Linked DNA regions of Homo sapiens: region 1 is linked to region 2. Evidence: promoter capture Hi-C in human tissues and cell types (Jung and others, 2019). All regions are on one chromosome and are shown on one strand. Each heading gives the region's core, a stretch centred on a gene start or on the middle of the fragment in contact. The rest is flanking DNA. Distances are from core to core; before and after follow the strand shown. Region 1 overlaps KIF5C (kinesin family member 5C). Region 2 holds the start of EPC2 (enhancer of polycomb 2).

What was found. Contacts are between HindIII fragments. The study calls those that stand out against the background at their distance.
Region 1: a contact is called between a fragment that was not itself captured here and the fragment with the promoter of EPC2 in region 2, in 1 of the 25 tissues and cell types used here (dorsolateral prefrontal cortex).

Annotation. Positions count from the first base shown.
Region 1 is chr2:148,904,827-148,911,075 of GRCh38, reverse strand. All of the region lies in intron 1 of KIF5C (kinesin family member 5C), which reads right to left. It overlaps LOC101928553 (a long non-coding RNA gene), which reads left to right. Exons shown (of 2, transcript NR_187659.1): 2 at 1,523-1,670. Among named protein-coding and RNA genes, the nearest start is that of KIF5C-AS1, 13 kb to the right of the region's middle. RefSeq lists a silencer at 1,602-1,896. The HindIII fragment of the contact is 3,200 bases long and covers 2,622-5,821 here.
Region 2 is chr2:148,642,898-148,649,238 of GRCh38, reverse strand. EPC2 (enhancer of polycomb 2) reads right to left here and starts at 4,488. Exons shown (of 14, transcript NM_015630.4): 1 at 4,069-4,488. The coding sequence starts at 4,221. RefSeq lists enhancers at 3,165-3,314, 3,911-4,415 and silencers at 3,405-3,494, 4,255-4,834. The HindIII fragment of the contact is 15,800 bases long and covers 1-6,341 here.

The DNA.
Region 1 (6,249 bases), core at 2,972-5,471, 260 kb before region 2:
AAAACCTCCAATTAGATGTCCCCAAGTACCCTAAACAATATATGTTGAAAAGAGAGCTTACTGCCTGTCTTCTCTGCCTCCTTCTCCTCCACCTCTTCCTTTCACTATCCCCAGTCATCCAGGATAAAAAGCTCAGAGCTATCTCTCCCACAGTTGTCCCTCACCACCATCATGCAATCAGTTGCCACAGAGTGGTCATTCATTTCTTTGATCTATCTCATTTTGTGTCTCAACTATTCTTACTACTTTTTGCCTAGACTTGTACAAGGGCCTTCTAAGTGATCCACTTGTCTGTCTTTTCTCCAATGTGCTCCACATCCTTTGCCAAATCCATCTGCCTCTGGCCCAGCAACTAAAAGAGCTTGCTAGGATGCTCTATGGTATATGATCCCCCTAGTGCAACAGCAGACCTACCAATCCCCACAGGAATGTCCTTCTCTACTGGACCTCACTGCTCTGACGATTCCCTCTAACTAGAATGCCATCTCAATGATTTGACCGTGTTATCTGTCAAAACACTACCCATTCCTCTGGAAGCACCATGTCATGGAAAAAATGCAGGATCCAGAGTTAGAGACTGGGGTGAGAGAGGGCTAATATATTTGACTGACTCTTGTATGCTAGACCCTATGTTTTACCTGGGGCATAACATAGATTGCTGACAACTATTCTTTAATGTAATTGCCACTCTTCATTTTACAAGTGACAAGGTCAGGTTCAGAGATGTCCATGGCTTGCACAGGGTCACAAAGCACGTATTACATTGGCTTCACATGGTAGTTGTGAGAACAAATAATAAAAGGCATATAAAATTACTTTACAAATTGCAAATTACAAATTGCACATATGTTATTAACATTATAACTTATCTTACCCTTTTATAGATTTTTAGTTATTTAAGGACATGTTTTCTATCTTACCCATCTTTGGATTCCCTGCAGCATTTATGATAAGTATTAAAAGTGCTTACATTAATAGCTGTTTAATTAAATTGGATTTTTCATGTCACATTTTGAATTAATAGAATTTTTAAAATTTTACTCCAAAATTAAAGCTGCCACTTATTGAACAGGTCCAAGTGCCAGGCAGAGACTACCATGAATCTCCACAGCAGTGCTCCAAGGTTAGCATTATAATATCCATTTTACAGATGGAGAAATCAGAGTTCAGAGACAACACATAATAGTCGCACAGCGATAAGTAGGAGAGGCAGGAGGGTCTGATTTCAGAGCTCATGATTTCCCACCATTAAAGACTCTCGATCACAGATATCCAATTCACCTAGAACCACCAAAATCTAAAATTTCTGCAACTGAGGTGATTCCCATCTCTTGTGAGCAGAGAAACGTTATTTTCCTTCTTATAGCCATAGTGCTGAGAGCTCTCTTTCAGACTCTGCTCAGCATTAATTACCACATCCTCATGAACACTGGCATAATCAGCCCTCTGCCCCACACAACTAAACATCTTTCTTACAGTTTTACAAATTTAGGGTTTCTCGTCTTACTGCTTTATTCAACAGATATTGACTGAGAATCCTCCATGTGCCAAGTACTGTTCAAAAACACTGGGAACCCAGCAGGGATGAGCCACAAGTTTCCTTGTCTTTACGAAGCTTTCATTCTGAGGGAGTGGAGAGAGACAAGCAATAAACAACCAATCAAAACAAAGATGACTCCTCTGAGTGTTGTGATATGCGGGTCAAGGAGGATGGCTCCCAGGATGTGACCTCAGAGCAGAAGCCTGGAGGCTTGCCAGCAGCGGGAAGAGCAGCGGCAGGGCACTGCAGGCAGAGGTGACCAAAAGCGTGAAACCTTGAGCTGGGAAGCACGTGGTCTGCTGGAAAGTGGGCTGATGTATTTGAAGAGAGCAAGGAGCAGAATGGTACAATGGGGTGATGGGGGAAGAGCCAGGCAGAGCCCAGTGCTGCAAAGCCCGGTAGCACATACATGTGTAACGTACCTTGAAGCAAATGAATGGCCTGATCTGGTTTCTGTTTTGGCTGCTCTGTGGTGATGTGGTGCCTGGGAGGCAAAGAAGCTGGGAAAGAAGCGGTTTTTCTCTTCTAGGTACTTTAAAGCTCTATAATATATGCTCAGGTGAAATTTGGCTGGTATTTTCAGGGACTTCACTGCTTTTGTGCCATACTGGCCTCATCATGTAGATAACATCACGGATTCATTCCATCTTATTATTCTGTAAGAGTGATGTCTAATTTTTTTAAAAAAGAATCAGCTTTAAAAAATGCAAAGTCTCATAGAAAGTAACTCTTTTCTATTTTAAGCAAGCATTCAGAATATTAGCAGTGCTAATCAGTACCTCACTAAACAGTTATGACTGATTCTAAGTGCAAAGTGGGGAATGAGAGTAACAGAGAGTATTTACTGGCTGCTAAAAGCAGGTACAATGGGGAGCATGCTAGAGAAACTGTCTCACTGAATCCTCGGATGACCCCATGGTGTAGGTAATACTGGAGAAACTGAGGCTGCAGTGGCCACATGACTTGCACAAGGCCACCCAGTAAGAATGGGATAGAACAAGAGCCCATGTCCATAACCCCTCTCCTACTACGCTAAGGTCAGGGTGGCCCTTTAAGGTGACCAAAGGGTTAGAAATAACAAACAAGAGTGGATGAACCTAGGTTTATTTTGTCTGGAGGAGAGAAATCTTTGAGAGTGATTAATTAAAGCATATTCAGGATATTTTTTAAATAAACGGAGAGAGCTGTTCTCCATCATCCCTAATGGTAGAAGAAAAGGCCTTCACCCTCAGCCTGGCAGGTGAAGACAGAGATAAAGAATGTGCAGACTGTGGGATCTTGCTGGGAGGGAGGCAGGACTCACCTACCTAGTCTGTCTCTGATGCATTTCTTTGGAAAATGCATGTTGACAGTGCTTCTAAAAGTAATCATATGAGCTGCCTGAAAAGGTCAACTTTCAACTCTGGTAAAGATTGGGATGCCTTTTCCAGATTAATTCCACATTGGTGTTTGTGGGCAATGCTGAAACAAAAGAAAATCCAGGCTAGCCAAAACTTTTCACATAAATAGTGACAAAAGCAACCGAGTGGCTGGACAGATTTGAGACAGGAACAGCCCGAGGACTACAGCAGGGGCTCCCAGTCTGGAGACTCTAACATAGATCTCCAGATGACCCCAATGACTGGGAATTGCTTTTACTCTGGACAGCCTGCTGGGCGGCCCCAGTTGACTGTCCCGGGTATGTCCCGGGTCGCTAACCACTTTGACTGCCCCTGAGCCACAGAGTCAGGCAGGAGTCAGGGACACGTAGGTACTCTCTTCTCCCTGCCCCTCACCTTCCTTCAGGGCCACCTCGGCCACAAAGGCTGGCTCCACATCAGTCAGCTACTCAGACATGCTCTCGCCTCACCTCCTCCTTCCCACTCTTCCCCTGATGCCCACAGGCTGGATTTCAGGTCAGGAAGCACTAGGCTTGGAGCCATATGCTGAAAATGACTTCCCTTTTCTTCCTAGATTAGATTTGCTGCAAATGGCTCTGCTCCCACAAGCTCCATGATCCAATATACCCAGGAATAAAATCTAAGGGACATATGGTTACAGGGAGCAAGATCAGAAGAGACTTCAGCCTCCTGGGTTAATGCACAAAGCTTGCAGCTGGTCATGCAGTGTGCTGGGCCCTTTCCATGGCCATAAATCCACACCTGGGTGCATTAATGCCACTGCGTCTGGAGCCCATGTGCTTCACAATGGAGAGTTGAAGTAACTGCAGGCTGTCCTTCACAGGCCATATCCTCAAGGAGGCGGTCCTTGTGACACAGGTGGAGGTGACGTCACTTCCCCCCACATGGCCAGTCAGCCACTGTCAGGGGACTGCTCTCTCTCAGTGTTTTCTTAATTAAAGAAGCTTCACAGGACAGCAGCAAAGAGGGACCAAAACAGGTAGCATTGGACCAATCCCTTGGATTGGGTCTGAAAAGCAGCTGCCACCTTCATTGTCCTTCTCAGTTTTTTCTTTTTCTTTCTTTTCTGTTTTTAGAGACAGGATTCTTGCTCTGTTGCCCAGGATGGAGTGCAGTTGAATGATCATAGTTCACTGTAGTCTCAAACTTCTGGACTCAAGTGATCCTTCCACCTCAGCATCCTGAGTAGCTAGGACTACAAAACACATGCCACCACACCCAGCTAATTCTTTTAATTTTAATTTAATTAATTAATTTATCTATTTATTTTGAGGCAGGGTCTTGCTCTGTCGCCCAGGCTGGAGTGCAGTGGTATGATCTCAGCTCACTATAGCCTCAACCCCCTGGGCTCAAGCAATCCTCCCACCTCAGCCCCACTGAGGAGCTGGGACTACAGGCATGCACCACCACACCCAGGTAATTTTTGTATTTTTTGTAGACACAGGGTTTCACCACATTGCCCAGGCTGGTCTCGAACCCCTGAGCTCAAGCGATCCTCCCACCTCAGCCTCCCAAAGTGCTGGAATTACAGACATGCACCAGCATGCCTGACTTCATTATTTTTATTTTATTTTATTTTTAGAGATGGGGTTCTCACTATGTTGCCCAGGCTGGTCTCAAAGTCCTGGGCTCAAGCAATACTCCCACCTTAGCTGCGATTACAGGCATGAGCTACTGTGTCCTCCTGCTCAGTTTTCTAGCACTGTCAGGCCCTGAGCTCCAAGCCTTTCCTCCAGTAAAGCACATCAGTTACTTAGATGCCAACTGTGGCATCTCCCTCCCATGGGACTTCCTTATGATCAATGAGTCAGTATTTCCTGAGATTCCTCAGTCTCCACTTTCACAGCCTGGTTCCCTCCAGGCACTCATACTTGCGCCTCACCCTCTTTTTCTGCTGAATTATTTAGACATCACGAATTGGCTAAAATGTACTTGCTGAATTTACTGGCAAGAGAAGACGCAGCTTCCCTTCCCTTTCCTCTGCCTCCCCTTTTTCCCTCTGGCCCCAAGGGAGTCTCACTCTCTCTCCCCTCCCTCCTAGGTAAACCCATCTGATATGGTTTGGCTGTGTCCCCACCCAAATTTCATCTTGAATTGTAGCTCCGATAATTCCCACATGTCATGGGGGTACCCTGTGGGAGGTAATTGAATCATGGGGTGGGTCTTTCCTGTGCTGTTCTCATGACAGTGAATAAGTCTCACAAGATCTGATGGGTTTACAGAGAGGAGTTTCCCTGCACAAGCTCTCTTTTTTGGCCTGCCATCGTGTAAGACATGCCTTTCACCTTCCACCATGATTGCGAGGCCTCCCCAGCCATGCAGAACTGTAAGTCCATTAAACCTCTTTTTCTTTATAAATTACCCAGTCTCGGGCATGTCTTTTTCAGCAGTGTGAAAGTGGACTAATATACCATCCTCCCACTCCTTGACCCTGGCTCCATCTCTCCCTTCTCGTAGGCTTCCTCCATTAGCTAAAAGCATGACTACATGTGTGCTATCCTTAAAAGCAAAAAACCTGCCATCGACCTTGCTTCTACCTCAACTCACTGTGCTATCACCACACACTAAGCTTTTTGGAAATAAGTAGCACACACTCCCAGCATCCTTCCTCTCACTTCTCATTATGCCAGTCTTTTTGCTAAATGGGAAGCAGCAAAGGCACCCACAGCTGTCCCCTTAGCAAACCAATGCCTCTCCTTTGCCATCCCTTTATCACCCTCTCCAAGCATCTGCCCCTCCCACTTCTGCAATGATTTCTCCCCTTCTTTAATTTCTCCAACTTCTTTAATTTCTCTTTTTAAATATTGGCCTTCCCTAGCATTAAGTTTTTGTGCTTTTTTTCCTCTCTAAACCAATGTGTCCTAACTCAGGGATTTGGGTGGCACCATCACAATTTTTGTCATAACCATGTACCATCCACTCTACCTTTAATTTAATATTTTTTTAATTAACTTATTTTTCCTTAAATATACTTTCAATGAAACTTTTATATTACTGTTGTAAGTGAAAAATCAGTATTACATGCTATAAACAGAAGGCAATAAAAAGAGATACAATGAAAACAAAGCAATACTAATGAGCTCTAGCTAGAAACATTGCATGTCAAGGACTCCAAGCCTAGGACCTGTTCTTTCCTTTTATTAAGAGGGAAATTCCAAAGTATTAGAGATTAAACACTAGCACCAAACTGAAGCTTTGTCTTTGGTAGATTCAGAAGGGCTGAAAGAGGAATAAAATGAAAATAACTTTCCACTACCTGATTCAATGTTATCTAAGCCCATGTCTGCTGTGTACTGCCTAAAATTATCA
Region 2 (6,341 bases), core at 3,239-5,738:
TATAGGTACTTTTTTTGTATGTAAAGTATACTTCAAAAAAAGTTTATTTAAAAAAAGGATTAAATGAAATAATATATGTAAAGCCCTTAACACAGTATCTCGGATATATGAAGTATTCAGTAAATGGCAAGTATTAGTAAAAACATCAACTACCACTATACAACACTCATGGGGAGGCGGCAGAACCGCTGGCTGCCTGATCTTTCTGGTCTAAATTCTAAATAAACATAAGTGTACAGTACTTGACCTAGACCAAGTGCCGTGAGGAGCATTACAAAGACCAAGTTAAAGGAGGATGCCAACTGGCAGCTCTTAGCAGAGGACAATGATAATAAGGATAGGGAAGAAAAGAAGTAAAAGATGTTTGGATGTCCAAAAGAAGAGGCTACACAGGATGACATGATTATCAATGATACAATGTTACCAATGCCCAAGAACACCTAAATCACCTCATCCAGGCATTGTCAGAATGTAACTCAGTCAGAATGTAACTCGAACTTGAATAATGACTTTGTTTATATAAACGAAGTCTAATGATAGTCCAATAGCTACACAGAAGAGACAGGCCTTAATTTTAAGGGTGGGTGGGGATAGAGGGGGAATGGGAAAAAGCCATCCATGAAGGCTTCAAAAGATTTTGCCAACCAAGCAGGACAGCACAGTTCAGAGACACCCAGCAACAATTGTGAATCCGTAAGCCAAGGTTGGTTTGTTTGTTACAAGCCTACTGATTTAAAAGAAAAAAATCTTATAAAAATAAGGAGTTAAGGACATCTAGATATTGAAAGTTACTTAAAATGCAATTCAAGTGAAACACAAAACATTTGTGAAATGTATGACATTTTACTGCTGCTTAGAAATATTTATCAAGGCAGAACCATTTTTATAAATACATAATTCTGTTTAATAACAGAAGTCCTGTAAGACCAGAGAAATGAATTTGCTGTCACTCATGAAAACACAAGTCTTCTGACATACATATTTAAAAAAGAAAGAAAAAGAAAAACTAATACTCCAATTGGACACTCTGGGAAGCAAAAGATTTCAGACTATAAATCTTAACTGTTACGGTTTGCTTAATTTTGATTTTAAGAATCTCCACTTTTAGCATGTATTAAAGAGGCAGAAAGGACAGGACAAAGAATCAGAGGTTCTGGGTTTCAACTCTAGTTTTATCAGAATTTGGATTTCTTCTTCCTTAAAATTGGGCAATTGAAGTAGGCTACTGAAAAGTATCCAAGTTTAGCACTCATGCTCTAGTTTGAAAATAATTCTTTCTAAAAGAGCTAATAAAAAAATTGCAAGGCGCGGCAGGGCACGGTGGCTCACGCCTGCAATCCCAGCACTTCGGGAGGCCGAGGCAGGTGGAGCAAGAGTCAAGAGATCGAAATCATTTTGGCCAACACGGTGAAACCTCGTCTCTACTAAAAATACAAAAATTAGCTGGGCATAGTGGCACGTGCCTGTAGTCCCAACTACTTGAGAGGCTGAGGCAGGAGAATCACTTGAACCCGGGAGGCGAAGGTTGCAGTGAGCTGAGATCGCGCCACTGCACTCCAGCCTGGCGACAGAGCTAGACTCGGTAATAAATTAAAAAAAAAAAAAAAAAAAAAAAAAAAGTCTGCAAGGCGCGGCCAGGCGCAGTGGCTCACACCTGTAATCCCAGAAATTTGGGAGGCCGAGGCGGGTGATCACCTGAGGTCAGGAGTCTGAGACCAGCCTGGCCAATATGGTGAAACCCCGACTCTACTAAAAATACAAAAATTAGCTGGGCGAGGTAGTGGGCGCCTATAATCTCAGCTGCTCGGGAGGCTGAGGCAGGAAAATCACCTGAACCTGGTAGGCGGAGGTTGCAGTGAGCCGAGATCGCGCCATTGCAATCAAGCCTGGGCGACAAGAGCTAAACTCCATCTCAAAAAACAAATAAACAAAAAATTGCAACACGAGTTAAGCACTTTTATTTTTAATGAAGCATGAAAAAATTACTCTAAGTTATCTTACTAAATTAAAATACCAAAACATATGTGGCATACTAAGGACCACGTATGTTGGTGATTGCAAAAAGTAATATACCTTCCAGGAGTTAACTGTTCACTCTAGAACAGATTTCCTTTTTTTTGTTGTTGGGGGGGACGGAGTCTCGCTCTGTCCCCCAGGCTGGAGTGCAGTGGCACGATCTCTGCTCACTGCAACCTCTTTCTCCCGGGTTCAAGCAATTCTTCTGCCTCAGCCTCCCGAGTAGCTGGTATTACAGGCGCGCACCACCAGGCCCGGCTAATTTTTGTATTTTTAGTGGAGACGGAGTTTCACCATACTGGCCAGGCTGGTCTCGAACTCCTGACCTCATGATCCGCCCACCTCGGCCTTCCAAAGTGCTGGGATTACAGGCGTGACCCACCGTGCCCGGCCTAGAACAGATTTGACTCAAGTTCTAAAATAATAGGATCAAAGTAATTACACACAATACTGGTACTTTTAAGGCCATCTTTCTTTGGATCAAGACCCACAAAATAGCAAAAATATCCAAAGTTGTGCTTATTAGGGTTCAATGTAATTAACTATTGTATATAATATGATTTTATTTTAATTTTCCTTCCCATGGAAAACTGAGTCGTTAGAAACAAATTAAAAAAAAAAGTTCTCACATACAAAAAAAAAAGTTCTCACAGCTCTAAACCTTAGGGATAAATGCTGGGTTTTGATTATAAACATATTTATATATATGCACACACAAATATATATGTGTATGTGCGTGTATATATATCTATTACATATTTGTGTGTGTACACACACAGTTAAGTTCATCCCGATGCTACGGCCATATGCATTTTCTACTGAAAATGTAAGACTTTCAAGTAACTATACATCAAAGAGAAATGTGATTAAATAAGAGCAAAGTAGTATTAACAGGGTAACATAATGAGGTCAGAACTCAACCAGCCAATCGAAGGCATAAAAGCATTTCCTGCAATATTAATAGTCAAAAGAGAAAACCAATCACTGAAACCTCGAGCTTCCTTTTGACAGTCACTGAAGCAAGAGAACCAATCCACACACACCCGAGGTTGACAATAAGGCGGGACTGTAGGTTCATTGAAGAAATTCTTGAGGGTGCAGTTACTATGAACTTCGCACGCAAGTAACACCACTCGAGTCATAAACACTCTCTGTCAAGCCAGATGAAATCCAACCGTCTGCAAAATTTAACCCATCGGAGGAAAAGCAGCAATTTTCCCAAAAGGTGCTGTATTATCAAAATTACAACTGCCAATTTAGATGCACTAGGTCCTCAACTTCTAAGGACCACCTCGCAATGACAATTCTCGAGGACAACGCAACGCCGGCGGCTCGCTTCCGGGCATCCCCGGCTCCTCTCTAACGTTGCGCACGGAGCACGGCCGTCCAGGCGGAGCAGGCAGAGCCCGTCCGCCCCGCGCCCGGCTCGGGTCGGCAGAACTGGCCGGCGGGCGGCCCTCGGACGCTACGACCCGCTCGGTAGTCGTGGCCCCCGCCCTCCCCCGCCGCAGTGCTGCACCGCCTCATCCCGCTGCACCTTCGCGGGCGGGGGAGCCAGGATGATTACATTGCTGGGAGGAAGATGTTTGTTTTGAAAGCACCCTTCCACAGTCATTTCAAAGAGAACTCAATACAAAGCCAAAGTTAAAAGTGGAAAAAATAATAATCTTGCCTAGCCAAATAATACCACGCCATTAATTAGCCCCGCGCCTGAGAGAGGGAGGTGGAAAGGTAAACAGAGACCGTACGCCAAGAGCGGCCAGCGCATCCCCTGCGCCATTCCCGGCCGCCGCTTACGGCAAGGCCCCCTTACGGCAGCGTAAGCAGCGCTGCGAGCTAATCACAACACTGGGACGCAACAACATGGCGGCCGCGGGCGGGCGCTACGCCGGCCGAGAGGGTTTACGCTACTCCGCCGGCGTAGAGTCCCGTGCGTTAGAGCGGCAGCGGCGCCCTCCAGCGAGCGTAAAGCGCTCTGTGAATGGCGAGGCCCGACTGACAAAGGGGAGGGGGGAGGAGGGAAGGGGGGGTAATAAACACTCGAGTCCCTACCGATTCCTCCTCCTTCTCCATCCCGGTGGGCATCTGGGGCACGGCCCGGTTGATGGAGACGCAGTCGTTGAGATCAGGCATGTCCTTGCCGCGGTAGATAGGCAGCGGCTTGGCGGCGTCCAGCGCCCGCGCTCGGAAGGAGAGTTTACTCATTGTCTCCCCGCCTTACAGGAACAGCCCGGGCGGCGGCGGCGGGGCGGGCGGGGAGGGGGGGAGGACTCCCGCCGCCTCCTCCACCTCCTTCCTCAGTGCAGCGCGGCCGGCCCGCTCCTCCTCCTCCTCACTGCCCCCGGCCACAGCATGGGCGCCCACCCCGCCCGAAAACAGCCCCCCGCGCCCGCGGCCGCCTCCACACACTAGATCCGCCGCTCGCCCGCCCGATCCGCTCCCTGCGCCATGGCCAACATGGCGGACATTACCACAGCGGCGGCGAGCGATCCCGGCAGCCCGCGCGAGAGCGCGCCCCCGTCGCGGGAACGCGCCTCGCCCTCTCCCTCCCTCCCTCCTTCCTCTCCCTTCCCCTCCCTCGCCTGCCCACCCACTCTCTCCGCGGCGCTGCCGGCCCGCGGGAGCGTGCTCGGTCTCGGTCCGCTCCGGGGAGAGGGGGCGGGGGCGGCGCCCCTCCGCTCGCTGGCCGGTGCTTTCGCTGTGTGGCAGGTGCCAGGTGCGCAAGTTCGCCCGCGCCCGGGAGCGTGCGCCTCTCCCGCCGCCGCCCGGTCACCCCTCTCGCTGGGTGTCCCGGAGGAAGGCGCCGGGCAAAGACGGCTGCGCCGAGCAGCGCGTGTGTGCAGAAGTCCGGGAGCGGGAAGGGAAAATGTCGACCCGGACCCCACCAGCCATCACCCAAGCCTGTACTTGGACAGCGCTATCCCCAAGGCGCCCTGTGCGCAAGCTAATTCGCATCCTCCGAGGCGCACATCCCCGAGAGGTGCAAGAGGTCTCTCCCATCAGTCCCATCAGTCCGTTCGGAGGACTGGACCGCGCTGCTGGTGCCAGCCCTCTTCTACGCCCTCCCCTCCGTACCTGTCCGAAAGAGCTCTCCAAGGTGCAGCAGCGCGTTCATCCTCGCTTTGCAGTGAGGGTTCATGGTTTGAGGCTGCCAGATGCAACAAGTGAACTTAGGTTCCCTGTCACCCAAACTTCGGTACAGCTGTTTAGTGGATGGTAGGTATTTTTCTGAGTTCAAAAATAGTAGCTTTCCTAAAAGTTCAGCTTCTAAAAATTTAGCCAAGGCAGCACACATTTGCGAAGTAGCAGATGTGTGTCAAATGTGGGGTGCTGTGGAAGACTCGAAGAAATCTGAGAAAAGGTTCCTGCCTCAGAGAGCTTTCACCTTAATGGGATGCCAGGATGGCTGGAAAGATGAGTAACAGAGACGTAAATAGTTGAAGAAAATGACAGCTGGAAAGATAAGTGACAACCGAAAAAAAAGTGTAAATATTTTAAGAAAACAATACAAGAGATGACACAGGCAGTAAGTAGCACATGATTAATTACCAAACGAGATCTAGGCAATAATTGTGAGAGTTCAGAGAAAGGAAAGGAGGCATGACTGCAGCCTAAACTGGTTAGAGAAAGTTCTCAAGAGGAGGGAAAATCAAGGTGACTCAAATAAGTACTAGCTATTGTTGACATCAACCTGGTTTAGCCAAGAGGCTCTTGGTTAGTCTTTAAGCATTACACATTTCTCACAAAACCGTACAAAGAGAGTTTTTAACACATTTTACCATTTTCTAATAATCGATCATACTCTAACTCAGAGAAAGTCAGATGATTTCCTAAAGACCAACAGTGAAAAAATTGATTCCTACTGTCATTTCTATGTGACAATAAAACTATATCTCTTCCTCTATTACGTCCTTCTTCCCCTCCTCCACTTCCTCCCCTCCCCCTTTTTCCTCCTGTTCCTCTTCCCCTTTTCTCTCTGCAGTCTCCTCCTTTGAAGGCAGAATGGTGGATATAGTCTTCATGGTAGTGTCCAAATAGTCTAACCAGTCTGTCGCAGCAAAACTCCGAGTATTGTTTAGTGGGGCTTGAGTGTTTTTCATCCACTTTGTTGTTGGAAGCAATGGAGTTGCTGTGACTCATTTCTTGTAAGCAGTACCTTCCTCAAGCTTATGGGCATGTCCTGCTCTCTAAGTGCTACCCCTGGAACAGTTCCAATCCTCTGGAAGCAAGAACAAGAAGTTCTTGGGAGGGGGTCAGCACTGGGTTCAAGCCTGAAAGGGAAGAAAAAAGCAATAGTTGAAGAAATGAGTCATCCAGAGCTTTCA